Regions from separate parts of the Homo sapiens genome. Here region 2 is linked to region 1. Evidence: promoter capture Hi-C in 16 types of primary human blood cells and fetal thymus (Javierre and others, 2016). All regions are on one chromosome and are shown on one strand. The core of a region is centred on a gene start or on the middle of the fragment in contact, and the rest is flanking DNA. Distances in the headings are between cores, read along the strand shown.

What was found. The method cuts DNA at HindIII sites, captures the fragments that hold promoters and counts their contacts. A CHiCAGO score of 5 or more calls a contact.
Region 2: a contact is called between a fragment that was not itself captured here and the fragment with the promoter of FGFR1 in region 1, in 3 of 17 cell types (endothelial precursors, M0 macrophages and M1 macrophages). The highest score is 6.5, in endothelial precursors.

Annotation. Positions count from the first base shown.
Region 1 is chr8:38,466,961-38,472,919 of GRCh38, reverse strand. FGFR1 (fibroblast growth factor receptor 1) reads left to right here and starts at 4,285. Exons shown (of 18, transcript NM_023110.3): 1 at 4,285-4,939. RefSeq lists enhancers at 1-147, 148-941, 3,953-4,122, 3,559-4,545 and silencers at 4,403-4,472, 4,743-4,872, 4,883-5,002. The HindIII fragment of the contact is 10,295 bases long and covers 2,155-5,959 here.
Region 2 is chr8:38,548,737-38,554,597 of GRCh38, reverse strand. LOC124901935 (a long non-coding RNA gene) reads left to right here and starts at 850. Exons shown (of 2, transcript XR_007060890.1): 1 at 850-3,143. RefSeq lists enhancers at 158-247, 1,832-2,333, 4,957-5,016. The HindIII fragment of the contact is 953 bases long and covers 2,285-3,237 here.

The sequences.
Region 1 (5,959 bases), core at 3,036-5,535:
TACAAAAACACCAAGCCAAATAAGACCCTCCCTTCCCTGACATGCTGAAGCTGCTCTGGGAACAGACAGGGGTCACCAAATGGTGGCCAGATGGTGACTGACTGCTGCTCCCTAACTCCAGGGGCCTGGGGCAAAAGGCTTGGCTGCCCACCTGCTCCCAGGACCTGTGAACCATCCACTTTGTAGGGAAAACCCCAGACAGTTCCCTCCTCCCGAATCCCCTTCTGCAACCAGCTCTCGGAGTGGAGACTCTGCCAGCTCTCACCACATCCTGGGGACTCTTGAAGCCTGGGCTGGAAGTTCTGCAACCTTGCCCCATGTCAATGGTGCTTACTTTACCTGACTTGTTCCATAACAAAGAATTGTTAATTCTGCAGTATCGACCCAGGGTAGTGGGGTGATCATTCCTGGTAGGCACAGCTGAGCCCTAAAATAACAGAACCCAGATAGAGCAGGGGCAGAAGGAATGTGGGGAGAGGGGAAGAGGAGCTCCCGTCTGCCAGGGAAAACTCTGAGGACACAAGTAGCTGGAGGAACAGGGAAGGGATTTCCTACAGTGTTCCCAAACAAAGAGAGCTGGCCGGGCTTTGGGGAGAGCTCCGTTTCCCTTCGTTTCATTCAGCAGTGGTCTCCTCCTCCCACAGATGTGGGAGGCAACAGGCCCCCAACCAGTTATCAGGCCCTCCAGCATGAGGGCCTTTGTCTCCCCTTAGACATGTAGCTGGCAGGGCGAAGGGCCGACAAATCCTCCCTGACCCTCCCAGCTCTTTGTTATCTCAGAGGGAAGGTTACATTTCTGTATGGGAGGCAAGGTGCCAGGAGGCCTCGGGCAGAACAGAGACAGGCAGAGCTGCTGTCTGACCCCTGTTGCCTGGAGCAGCTCAGGGCTGCCCTAGGGACACTCTCCCTCCACTGGCCTGGGGCCCTTCCAGAAATGGGAGGGCTACATTTCAGAAAGAGGGCGAGTAGAGGAGTGGGACAGAAAAGGAGCGAGGTGGGCTGGAAGGATAAAAGCAGCCAACTCTCAATTATTCAGAAACCTGTCTGCAGTGTGTGGACAGCCCATGCCTTTGCTGAGTTTCTCACCTTCTCTGTTCAGCTGCCATCAGCTCTTTCCCTGAGAAGTGGAGGAGGGACCCTGGCAAGTTGGCCACTTGCTTTCATTTTGGCTTCTTGATAAATCTATAGAGGATTTTTCAGCAGCAGGCCCATGTCCCTCAACCCCAAACAAGCATTTAGATCATTATCTTTCTGTTTAAATCAAGAACGCATTATTTAGCCTTTTATTTGGGGTTCAAGATACTCCTACAATGGTTCTAAATCATAAGAAAAAGGGGCTTGATTTAAAACCCCTTGTTTTGGGCCAGGAATGGTGGCTCACGCCTGTAATCCCAGCACTTTGGGAGGCCAAGGTGGGCAGATTACCTGAGGTCAGGAGTTCGAGACCAGCCTGGCCAACATGGTGAAACCCTGTCTCTACTAAAAATACAAAAATTAGCTGGGCATGGTGGCAGGTGTCTGTAATCCCAGCTACTCGGGAGGCTGAGGCAGGAGAATCGCTTGAGCCCAGAAGGCAGAGGTGAGCTGAGTGAGCTGAGATCGTGCCATTGCACTCCAGCCTGGGCAAAAAGAGCAAGACTCCATCTCAGGAAAAAAAAAAAAAAAGAAAACAAAAAAAACCCTTTTTTGAGAAGAATTACGGAGCAAAGTAGAAAAATAGTAGCTGGGTGTTAACATTAAATGCTGGATTTTTTTCATGGCTTGTCTTCCCAATCATATTCCCTCAAATTGTGTTTCCTCCTCTGGTAACCCAGGTTGGTTATGCTTAGCAAGTCCATGAACAATAAATATACATGGAAAACCTCCTGTGTAGAATTGGTCAGACACCTAGATAAGATCCTTGCCCTAAAGCAGTTTAGAAACCAGTTAGAAAGAAAGCAGAGTAAGGAAAACCACTAACAAAGCACGGTATCAACTCAGTGGATAGTCAGCAAGTGAGCAGGGGGTCCAGGGACTGACAAAGCTGGGATGGGCAGGGAAGGCCTCTTGGGGGTAGGGTGTGAGTATGGCCTTCTTACAAGCGTGTGATGTGTAGTAATTAAAATGCAGGAGGCCTAATGGGTGGGCAGCTTACATAGGAGTATAAACCAAGCTTGACCAGGAGCTGAAAGGTTAAATGGTGGCTCTTAGGGGAAAACCCTATAAACAGTGGCTGAAGTTCATTTATTCAACAAAGATATGAGTTCTTGTTTCTCATTTTTTGTTTTGTATTATTTTGTTTTGAGACAGGGTCTTACTCTGTCGCCCAGGCTGGAGTGTAGTGGCTGGATCATAGCTCACTGCAGCCTCAAACTCCTGGGCTCAAGCCATCCTCCTTCTTCAGCCTCCACCTCCAGCTAATTTTTAAAAATATTTTGTAGAGACAAGGGCTCACTTTGTTTCCCAGGCTGGTCTTGAACTTCTGGCTTCAAGTGATCCTCCCGCTTCGGCCACCCAAAGTGCTGGGATTACAGGCGTGAGCTGTAATTTAGTTGTTTATTTACTCATTTGTTCAACAAATACTTATTGAATATTTGCTCTTTGGCCAGTCAAGGGATTTCATGAGTGTCTACTATGTGAATAACACTGTGTTGGCCACTAGTCTGTCACCTACTGGTGGATTAGAAAAATAGCGCGAGGACCATTTTTTCTTTTCTTTTCTTTTTTTTTTTGAGACGGAGTCTTGCTCTGTTGCCAGGCTGGAGTGCAGTGGCACAATCTCGGCTCACTGCAACCTCCGCCTCCCGGGTTCAAGCGATTCCTCTGCCGCAGCCTCCCCAGTAGCTGGGATTACAGGCAAGCGCCACCATGCCTGGCTAATTTTTTTGTATTTTAGTAGAGACGGGGTTTCACCTTGTTGGCAAGGATAGTCTCGATCTCCCGACCTCGTGATCCACCCGCCTCGGCCTCCCAAAGTGCTGGGATTACAGGCATAAGCCACCGCACCCGGCCAACTCTTTTCTTAAATTAGCCAGGGAGGCGTGGGTGGGTTGGGTGAGGAGTTGGGTGGGGGGATCTCATTCAGTATTCAAACTTCTACAAGTTTCGGGGTTGAGGTGGGTGATGGTAAGGGAACAGGCCCTGCCACTACCTTTCATAGTGACTTCCATTTGTGTAATATTTTTGGTCCACTGAGAGCTATTATTTTATTTGATTCTTATGACCATCTTGTGAAGGAGTATCAACAGATACCCCGTTTTGATTTTATCAGATGCATGATTTGTCCTACATCAAACTTCATAAATGATGGACAGAATGGAGGAATCCTTCAGACCAAGTGCTGCCTACTTCCCACCCCAATGGTGGCCTCAGCCTGGGCTCACATCACACGCCCCAAGGAGCCTTGGAAAAAATAAAGGCTCTTGGCTCCTTCCTGGGACAGCGTGATTCCTCATGTCTGAGCAGGCCCATGAACTTGTATTTTTCAGACGTTCCCTAGGACCCGTGTCCATCTGGATTAGGGAACCACTACATTATACCACTTCGCGGGAAGACTCAGGGGGAAGCATTTTAGCCACTTTCCTGTGTTCCACAGTACTGGAGGGTGTTCTGAGTGGGCTGTGATTAATTTCCAAACCAACCACACGTCTCCCCTCAACTCCCACTGCTTACTCTTTGCTTCCTAGACATTCACTGCAGGCTGGAGACTTCTGGAAGCCAACAGCATCGCTGTAGAATTTACAGGGTCCAGTTCCCGGTGGACCACAAAACCTAAATTATGTGGCTGGGGAAAGCTGAAATCCAAGGGAAGGGTTTGAGGAGGGGCTGACCTTATAATAAAACCGGCTTGTATTTACTAAGTGTTAACTATGCGCTAGGCCCTCGTTGACGCCTCAACTCTATGTGAAAAGCACTATTATCCCCCATTTACAGATGGGAAAACAGAGATTTAGAGCGCGAAAATCATTTCCCCAAGGCGCACAGACTCCAAAGCCCACGCTACCAGGTACAACCTCAAGGCTGCGGCGTCTCTTCACCTGCCCCCTAGCCCCCAAACCGCTGCTATGTCTAGGGCCTGACATTCCGGCGCCCTCTGGGACGTGCTCAGATGCAGGGGCGCAAACGCCAAAGGAGACCAGGCTGTAGGAAGAGAAGGGCAGAGCGCCGGACAGCTCGGCCCGCTCCCCGTCCTTTGGGGCCGCGGCTGGGGAACTACAAGGCCCAGCAGGCAGCTGCAGGGGGCGGAGGCGGAGGAGGGACCAGCGCGGGTGGGAGTGAGAGAGCGAGCCCTCGCGCCCCGCCGGCGCATAGCGCTCGGAGCGCTCTTGCGGCCACAGGCGCGGCGTCCTCGGCGGCGGGCGGCAGCTAGCGGGAGCCGGGACGCCGGTGCAGCCGCAGCGCGCGGAGGAACCCGGGTGTGCCGGGAGCTGGGCGGCCACGTCCGGACGGGACCGAGACCCCTCGTAGCGCATTGCGGCGACCTCGCCTTCCCCGGCCGCGAGCGCGCCGCTGCTTGAAAAGCCGCGGAACCCAAGGACTTTTCTCCGGTCCGAGCTCGGGGCGCCCCGCAGGGCGCACGGTACCCGTGCTGCAGTCGGGCACGCCGCGGCGCCGGGGCCTCCGCAGGGCGATGGAGCCCGGTCTGCAAGGAAAGTGAGGCGCCGCCGCTGCGTTCTGGAGGAGGGGGGCACAAGGTCTGGAGACCCCGGGTGGCGGACGGGAGCCCTCCCCCCGCCCCGCCTCCGGGGCACCAGCTCCGGCTCCATTGTTCCCGCCCGGGCTGGAGGCGCCGAGCACCGAGCGCCGCCGGGAGTCGAGCGCCGGCCGCGGAGCTCTTGCGACCCCGCCAGGACCCGAACAGAGCCCGGGGGCGGCGGGCCGGAGCCGGGGACGCGGGCACACGCCCGCTCGCACAAGCCACGGCGGACTCTCCCGAGGCGGAACCTCCACGCCGAGCGAGGTAAGAGCCGCGGCGCCCCCGGATCTGGGGCGGGCTTGGCGTCCCGAGCGGCCCCCGGCGCCGGAGCCTCCCGGCTGCGCGCTTTGCCCGCCGCAGCCCAGCCGGGGCCGGCGCCTCCCTCCGCTCGCCGCCCGCCCCTTTCACCTCCTGGCTCCCTCCCGGGCGATCCGCGCCCCTTGGGTCTCCCCTCCCTTCCCTCCGTCCGCGTCTCCTGCGCCCCCTCCCTGCGCTCGTCCCGCCGCTCTTCCCGCCGCCCAACTTTTCCTCCAACTCGCGCTCGGGAGCTGGCGAGGCGGCGGCGGCTCCTCAGTGAGTCCCGGGAGGGACAGGCCCGGGGCGAAGGCGGCGAGGCCCGCGGTTTCCTGGACTGGGGAGGAGGGCGGGAGTGGGCGGCGAGGTGGGATGCGTTGTGTGTGTTATGTGTGTGTGTTGCATTCCACTCCATGTCTTTTTGGTCCCCTTTTGGGGATTCACCCCCAATTCAGCAGGTAGCTTTGGGCTCAACGCTAAAAATCCGGGGCATTCCTAAGTCCTTTTCCACCCCCGGGAAAGCCTGGGGTGCGGGTTGGGGTCGGATGGGGTGGGAGATGAACTGCGGAGGACGTGGAGGGCTAGGTTAGCTTCTCTTGGAATAGGTTTTAAGGAGGTGTCGTCACCAAATGGCTGAATCTGCTTGAGCTGAGAGCGAAAAACGACTCCCCTTTCCAGAAGGGGTGATCTTATGACTTGGACGGTCTCTGAAAGGGTCGGAAGTTTGGGGAACGGGAGGACAACCCACGGTCGTTAAGCCGAGGTGTGGGATGGGGGCGGAAGGACCGTTCGGTCCCAATCTGGTTCCTAGAGGTGGGGGAAGGGATGAGGGTTTTTGTCCGGTGTGGTTCACTCGGCAGCGATGCGTATGCTTCTCTGGCCCAGACCCCTCTGCACCTCGCTTCCCCTACCGTTATGTTTGGGGTTGGGAGAAAAGTGAGGCTACGACCCATGTTTGCGGAGGAATTTTATGGACCTTGTAGATGGGGG
Region 2 (5,861 bases), core at 1,512-4,011, 83 kb before region 1:
TCTCGGGTGATTTGTGTCTCAAAACCACGCCAAGGCTGTAAATCAGGTGGTAGGAAGCTCTGTCTCCTGTTTTCCTGCTCAGCCAGACGGAGACAGAATGTACTGCCACCGGCTCCCAAATCTGGAAAACCAAGTCTGATTTAAGAGGAGATGTTTTAGCAGACATTAGCTCAGGTCAGGGCTGGGGAGCAGGGTCTCTTGCCTCTCCCTTCCTGCTCCGAAGGAGAAGGAAACAGCCACCTCCTCCCCAGCTGGGGGCTGAGTGGGTGGAGAACCTGAAAGGCAGGTGCCTAACAAGCCCTGGGGTTCGGTAGCAGCTGCTTAGAGCTCCTCCCCGGGAGGCTCCGGAGGGGAATTTTCCACTGCCCCGTTCAATTTACCAGGACAATTTAGCTCAGCTATACCGCGGCCTTGACTATTTACAGTGGGGAGCGCAGGGCGGTGGAGGAGCCCTCTAAGAGTCCGTGCAAGAGGGCCGCGGCCCAGCTAGAAGGGTCTGCAGGGGGCAAGGTGTGGCGGAGCGGGCTTCAGGCGCAGGTTTTGCTTGCTTTCACCACGCCCCAGGTCTAGCTCACGGCCTGCACCTGGGATGTTGGGGCTGTGCAGAGGCGCCGTGGGTGGGGACCAGGCCCCCTTTTAGATAGGGAGGGGAGGAGCAGGGCCCCGGCTGCGGGGAGTTGGGAGAGAAGCCAAAGCGTCTCCCCCCTCCCTCTGTTCCTGCTTTCTCAGGATGTCTGAGATGCCCAGCGTGGGTGAGTGCACCCTCCCTCCCTGGCTCTGCTCCTCCCCCTCCCCGGAACCACCACCCCCTCAGCCCTGAGCTGCCGATGCCCTCGGGGTTCTGTTTTCATTCCAGGCTGTGGATCCGGTCGTGGGAAGCAGGTAGGAAACCATGATTCTCGGGGTTAAATGAAGAAATATATTTAGTGCTCACAGAAATTTAGAAATTTAGAAAGCCAAATATTGGGTTAGCCGCCAGGAATGGAGAGGGAAAAAACCCAAAGCAAACAGCAGAGGAAAGAAATTCCTACCAGACAAGGTCCTTATTCATTCTCCCAACCCCAGGTGCAGGGGCCTGCAGGGGAGAGACCCGCTGAACTTAAGACTCTGATCAAACCCCAGACTCGGACCCTGCGCTGCCCATGGGGCCGACCGTCAATATCTGGATTGGCAATGGCACCCTAGAGCTCACTAAGTTGACCCTAAAGCCCTTTGGGAGCCAAGGGTGGGGGTGGGGAAGGAATAACAAAGTAGAAAGTTCCTGGATTGAGGTGGAAAAATCAGTTTAACCTCCCTGGGCCTCATCTACGGAATGTAAGGGTTGGATTATGATTTCACAGGTCATAGCATCCTACTATTGTTTCTGCCTAAAATAAGCAGCAATAAGAATGAGTGTGAGGAAGACCACAGCAGCAGGACCCACCTGTTTCTGAGGCCTAGGGAGATGCAGTGATAGATTTCAGCTTATTCCTCATTCTCAGGTTTCTGTACCTTGACCCTCCATAGAGTGAACTTCTAGGTTCTGAGCTGACTCCTTGGAAACCCTAGACTCCAGGGACGCGCTTCTAGAACCTGCTCAGATTGCTACTCAGTTAACAGCCTGGCCCAGGAGGATTGCAACACCCAGCCTGGCTCCCAGGCAAGCTAAAGAGGGCTTGATGATGGGAAGAGGTTAAGGGGTACGTGGAGAGAAAGAAGGATCAGAAGGCGGAAACATCATAGACCTCCTGGGATGCCTTCTGCAGGATCACAGAGAAGGCAAAATTTGTCCTCCTGACTACAAGATGCCAAGATACATTTGTATCGAGCCACTGAATTCTCTACCCCTTCTGTAGAGGTGGTTGGGGAAGAGCTGCAGTAGGAAGCTGGGTCCCAAGTAATGAAGGACCTTTAGAAGCAGAAGGTGTTAGGGTGGGGGCAAAGGACTGAACTCTGACCAACCAGAAGAAAGGAAAAACTGGAGTTCCTTTCCCCTAGGTCTGCCTTTCTTTCTCAGGGTCTCTATTTACTTCTCATGCACTTGACTCTCTGCTTCCCTCTCCCTCATTTCCACAAAGGGGCCCAAGCTTCACATGCATCTCGCACCCCCGCACCTTGTGGGCAGGAAATCTGAGCACAGGCATTTCCTGTACGCTGATAAATGCCCACTGCAAAGAGCCCCAGCCTGAAGGTGGCCCTGTCTCCTAGTTATGTCCCTCCACATCCTTATCTCCCCAGGCTCCAGCCCTCACCAGCAGGGACTCAACAAACGCCATCTGTCAGATGAGTCATGGGACCAGAAGCTTGGGAGAAGACATGCAGAGCCAACCACTAACAAAACTGGCAAATGAAATAAATGCCCAGAAACCTGCTCCATCCCCAGCATTCCTTAAGTCCTATAAATTGCACCACCTTTTACCAGTTTTCAGAAACTAAAAGTCATCCTTGACATCCGTCCAATCAATCACCTCCTATTTATCTCCCAAATTCATTCTTTTTTCTTTTTGAAACAGAGTTTTTACTCTTGTTGCCCAGGCTGAAGTGCAATGGCACGATCTCAGCTCCCTGCAACCTCCGCCTCCCAGGTTCAAGCCATTCTCCTGCCTCAGCTTTCCTGAGTAGCTGGGATTACAGGCATGCGCCACTACGCCTGGCTAATGTTGTATTTTTAGTAGAGATGGGGTTTCTCCATGTTGGTCAGGCTGGTCTTGAATTCCCAACCTGAGGTGATCCACCCACCTTGGCCTCCCAAAGTGCTGGGACTACAGGTGTGAGCCATTACACCCGGCAAATTCATTTTTATAATCTTGCCACCCCCACAACCACTGCCCTCATGGACCCTGGGCACGCCTCACCCGAATTACAGAAATTCCCTCCCAGCTGGTAAAACTGTTTGTGTGTGGCTCTCCTTCATTCCATCCTCCCTGGTTTAGCCAGAGAAATAATTCTAAAATGTACACATCCCAAAGCATCTCATTTTCCTGCATGCAGTCTTTCATCATCCATTCACTAACTGGAGGACAACATCTGAATTTATTAGTGAGCATACAAAGGCTTTTCATCCGCTGAACCCAGCGCATCTGCTACCATTTCCCTGGTCTCCGGTCAGAACTAGTGACTGTCCCATAAACAGGTTCTGCTGGACTTCCAGTCAAGATGGAGCGGTGAGTTCTCTGTTCCAACCACAAACCAGCAGTAAATAAAACATTTTCGCATATAACCCAACACACACAGTTGGGCTGAAAAACAAGGCAAGCTTTCTGTGAACCAGAAGCAAGAACAGAGCCCAAAATCACTAAATGGGGCTGTGACTGACATGCTGCTGGGCTCTGAGTCCCAAAGGGTTTTAGAGAAGCCAGGAGCCCAGTTACCTTAGAAAGGGCAGTGACTAAGATGAACACCAGGGGTCTTCTGGAGGCCAAGAATGTTCTTTTTGTGCTCTGGGGGTTTATTACACAGGAGCATTCACTTTGTGAAAACTCATTGAGGTGCCCCTTTACGATTCATGTGCGTTTCTGTATATCTGTTATATTTCAATAGAAATGTTTACTTGAAAAACTTTGTCCTGGGAGAAAGCCCAGAGGAAGACCCTACTTTTAGATGCTGGAGACCAGGGTAGGGTGAGGTAAAGTGGGGTGGAAATAGAGCACAGCCTCAAAGTGAGGACCCATGCCAAGCCACCCACAGCTCCTCATCTGGATTGGCATCATTCTGGCACAGAATAAGGAACCATGAAATAACACGTAAGAGCTGGCGCTGGAACAGCGGCTTAGGAAAATGGGTGGAGGCAACCACAAAACTATAAACTGTGCATTCAGGAAGAGAAGAAAAAAAGACAAAAACAAAACAAATCAAAGGGGGAAAACTGCCACTAGAAATGGATCTGCAAATCAAAATTCCAAAACACATTTTAACAATGAAAAAGTCTAATGCTAAGAAAGACAGTAAAATCAATAAACAACATTAATTCATTCCAGTTGACATCAGTTTTATAGAGCAGAAGTCATAAAAATCTACCAATTTTATAGACTAGTACTAAAATCTATCAGTTTCATAGAGGATAGGTTTTGAAGTATATATACATTTACATTTCTCAAAGAAATCATAAAAACATATTAAAAATAAGCAATAAATATTAGATGAAAATAGGAATGGAACAAGAAGAAGTGGGAATAAAAAAGATTAGGAAGGCCAGGCGCGGTGGCTCACACCTGTAATCCCAGCACTTTGGGAGGCCAAGGCAGGCAGATCACCTGAGGTTGGGAGTTCGAGACCAGCCTGACCAATATGGAGAAACCCTGTCTCTACTAAAAATACAAAATTAGCCAGGCATGGTGGCACATGCCTGTAATCCCAGCTACTCAGGAGGCTGAGGCAGGAGAAGCACTTGAACCTGGGAGGTGGAGGTTGCAGTGAGCCGAGATCATGCCATTGCACTCTAGCCTGGGCAACAAGAGTGAACTCTGTCTCAAAAAAAAAAAAAAAAAAAAAAAAGATTAGGAAAAGCCTGGGCACGATGGCTCATGCCTGTAATCCCAGCACTTTGGGAGGCCAAGGCAGGTGGATCACCTGAGGTCAGGAGTTTGAGACCACCCTGGCTAACATGGTGAAACACTGTCTCTTCTAAAAATACAAAATTAGCCAGGCGTGGTGGCGCATGCCTGTAATCCTAGCTACTCAGGAGGCTGAGGCAGGAGAATTGCTTGAACCTGGGAGGTGGAGGTTGCAGTGAGCCGAGATCACACCACTGCACTCTAGCCTGGGTGACAGAGTGAGACTCTGTCAAAAAAAAAAAAAAAAAAACTCAAGGAAAACGAACAAACTGGAAATCTTAGACACAAAAAATAGCCATTGAATTGTTTAAGCCTCAATATTCAGGTTAAACTCTAGACTGAGTGTAGTCAGAGAAAAAATGATGAAATGGGGGATAGTATGGAAAAATTTATCCAAAATGAAATACAAAGAGGAAAAGAAGGAAAAATATGAAAGACAAGACATAAGTAGATTAAGAGACTCTAGCCTAAGAGAGATCTAGAAGAGGACAGTAGAGAAGCTAGCTTTGTGTATTTATTTTTATTTTTTGTTTCTGTTTCTATTAGCGTCTTGCTACCCTCTTCTAAACTTTGTACCAGAGATTTGGAAGGGAGATTGGAGATGAGTCATTTTCTTCCTCCAGCAGAGGCAGTGGGTGTCTAGACTCGGTCAGACATAGTTTATGTAGAGTCTGGCTAGACTCCATTCCCCTGCCACCCATGGACCCCAGGGATGCAGGATAAGTGTGATACCAGCAGAGATTTCCTCCAGTTCTCTGACATCTATTAATAGATGATAACAGCAACTTCTAGACTCTCTGGACTATAGCTACAGTGGTCAATCTGAAAGTTACATGCATCCCCTGATTTTCTTTTTGTTAGCACCCAATTCCCTATATTTGATCCCTTTCTGCTTGAAATACCTAGAATAGTTTCTTTTTTCTTTTTCTTTTTCTTTTTTTTTTTTGAGACGGAGTCTGGCTCTGTCGCCCAGGCTGGAGTGCAGTGGCGTGATCTTGGCTCACTGCAAGCTCCGCCTCCTGCGTTCACACCATTCTCCTGTCTCAGCCTCCCGAGTAGCTAGGACTACAGGTGCCTGCCACCAGGCCTGGCTAATTTTTTGTATTTTTAGTAGAGATGGGGTTTCACCGTGTTAGCCAGGATGGTCTCAATCTCCTGACCTCGTGATCCACCTGCCTCGGCCTCCCAAAGTGCTGGGATTACAGGCGTGAGCCACAGTGCCTGGCCCTAGAGTAGTTTCTGTGTTCTTTACTGATAAAAGCAAATGGCTGTATTTGAAGCTATACTACCCTTCCACATAAAATGGACCCAAAAAATAAAGAGTTGTAA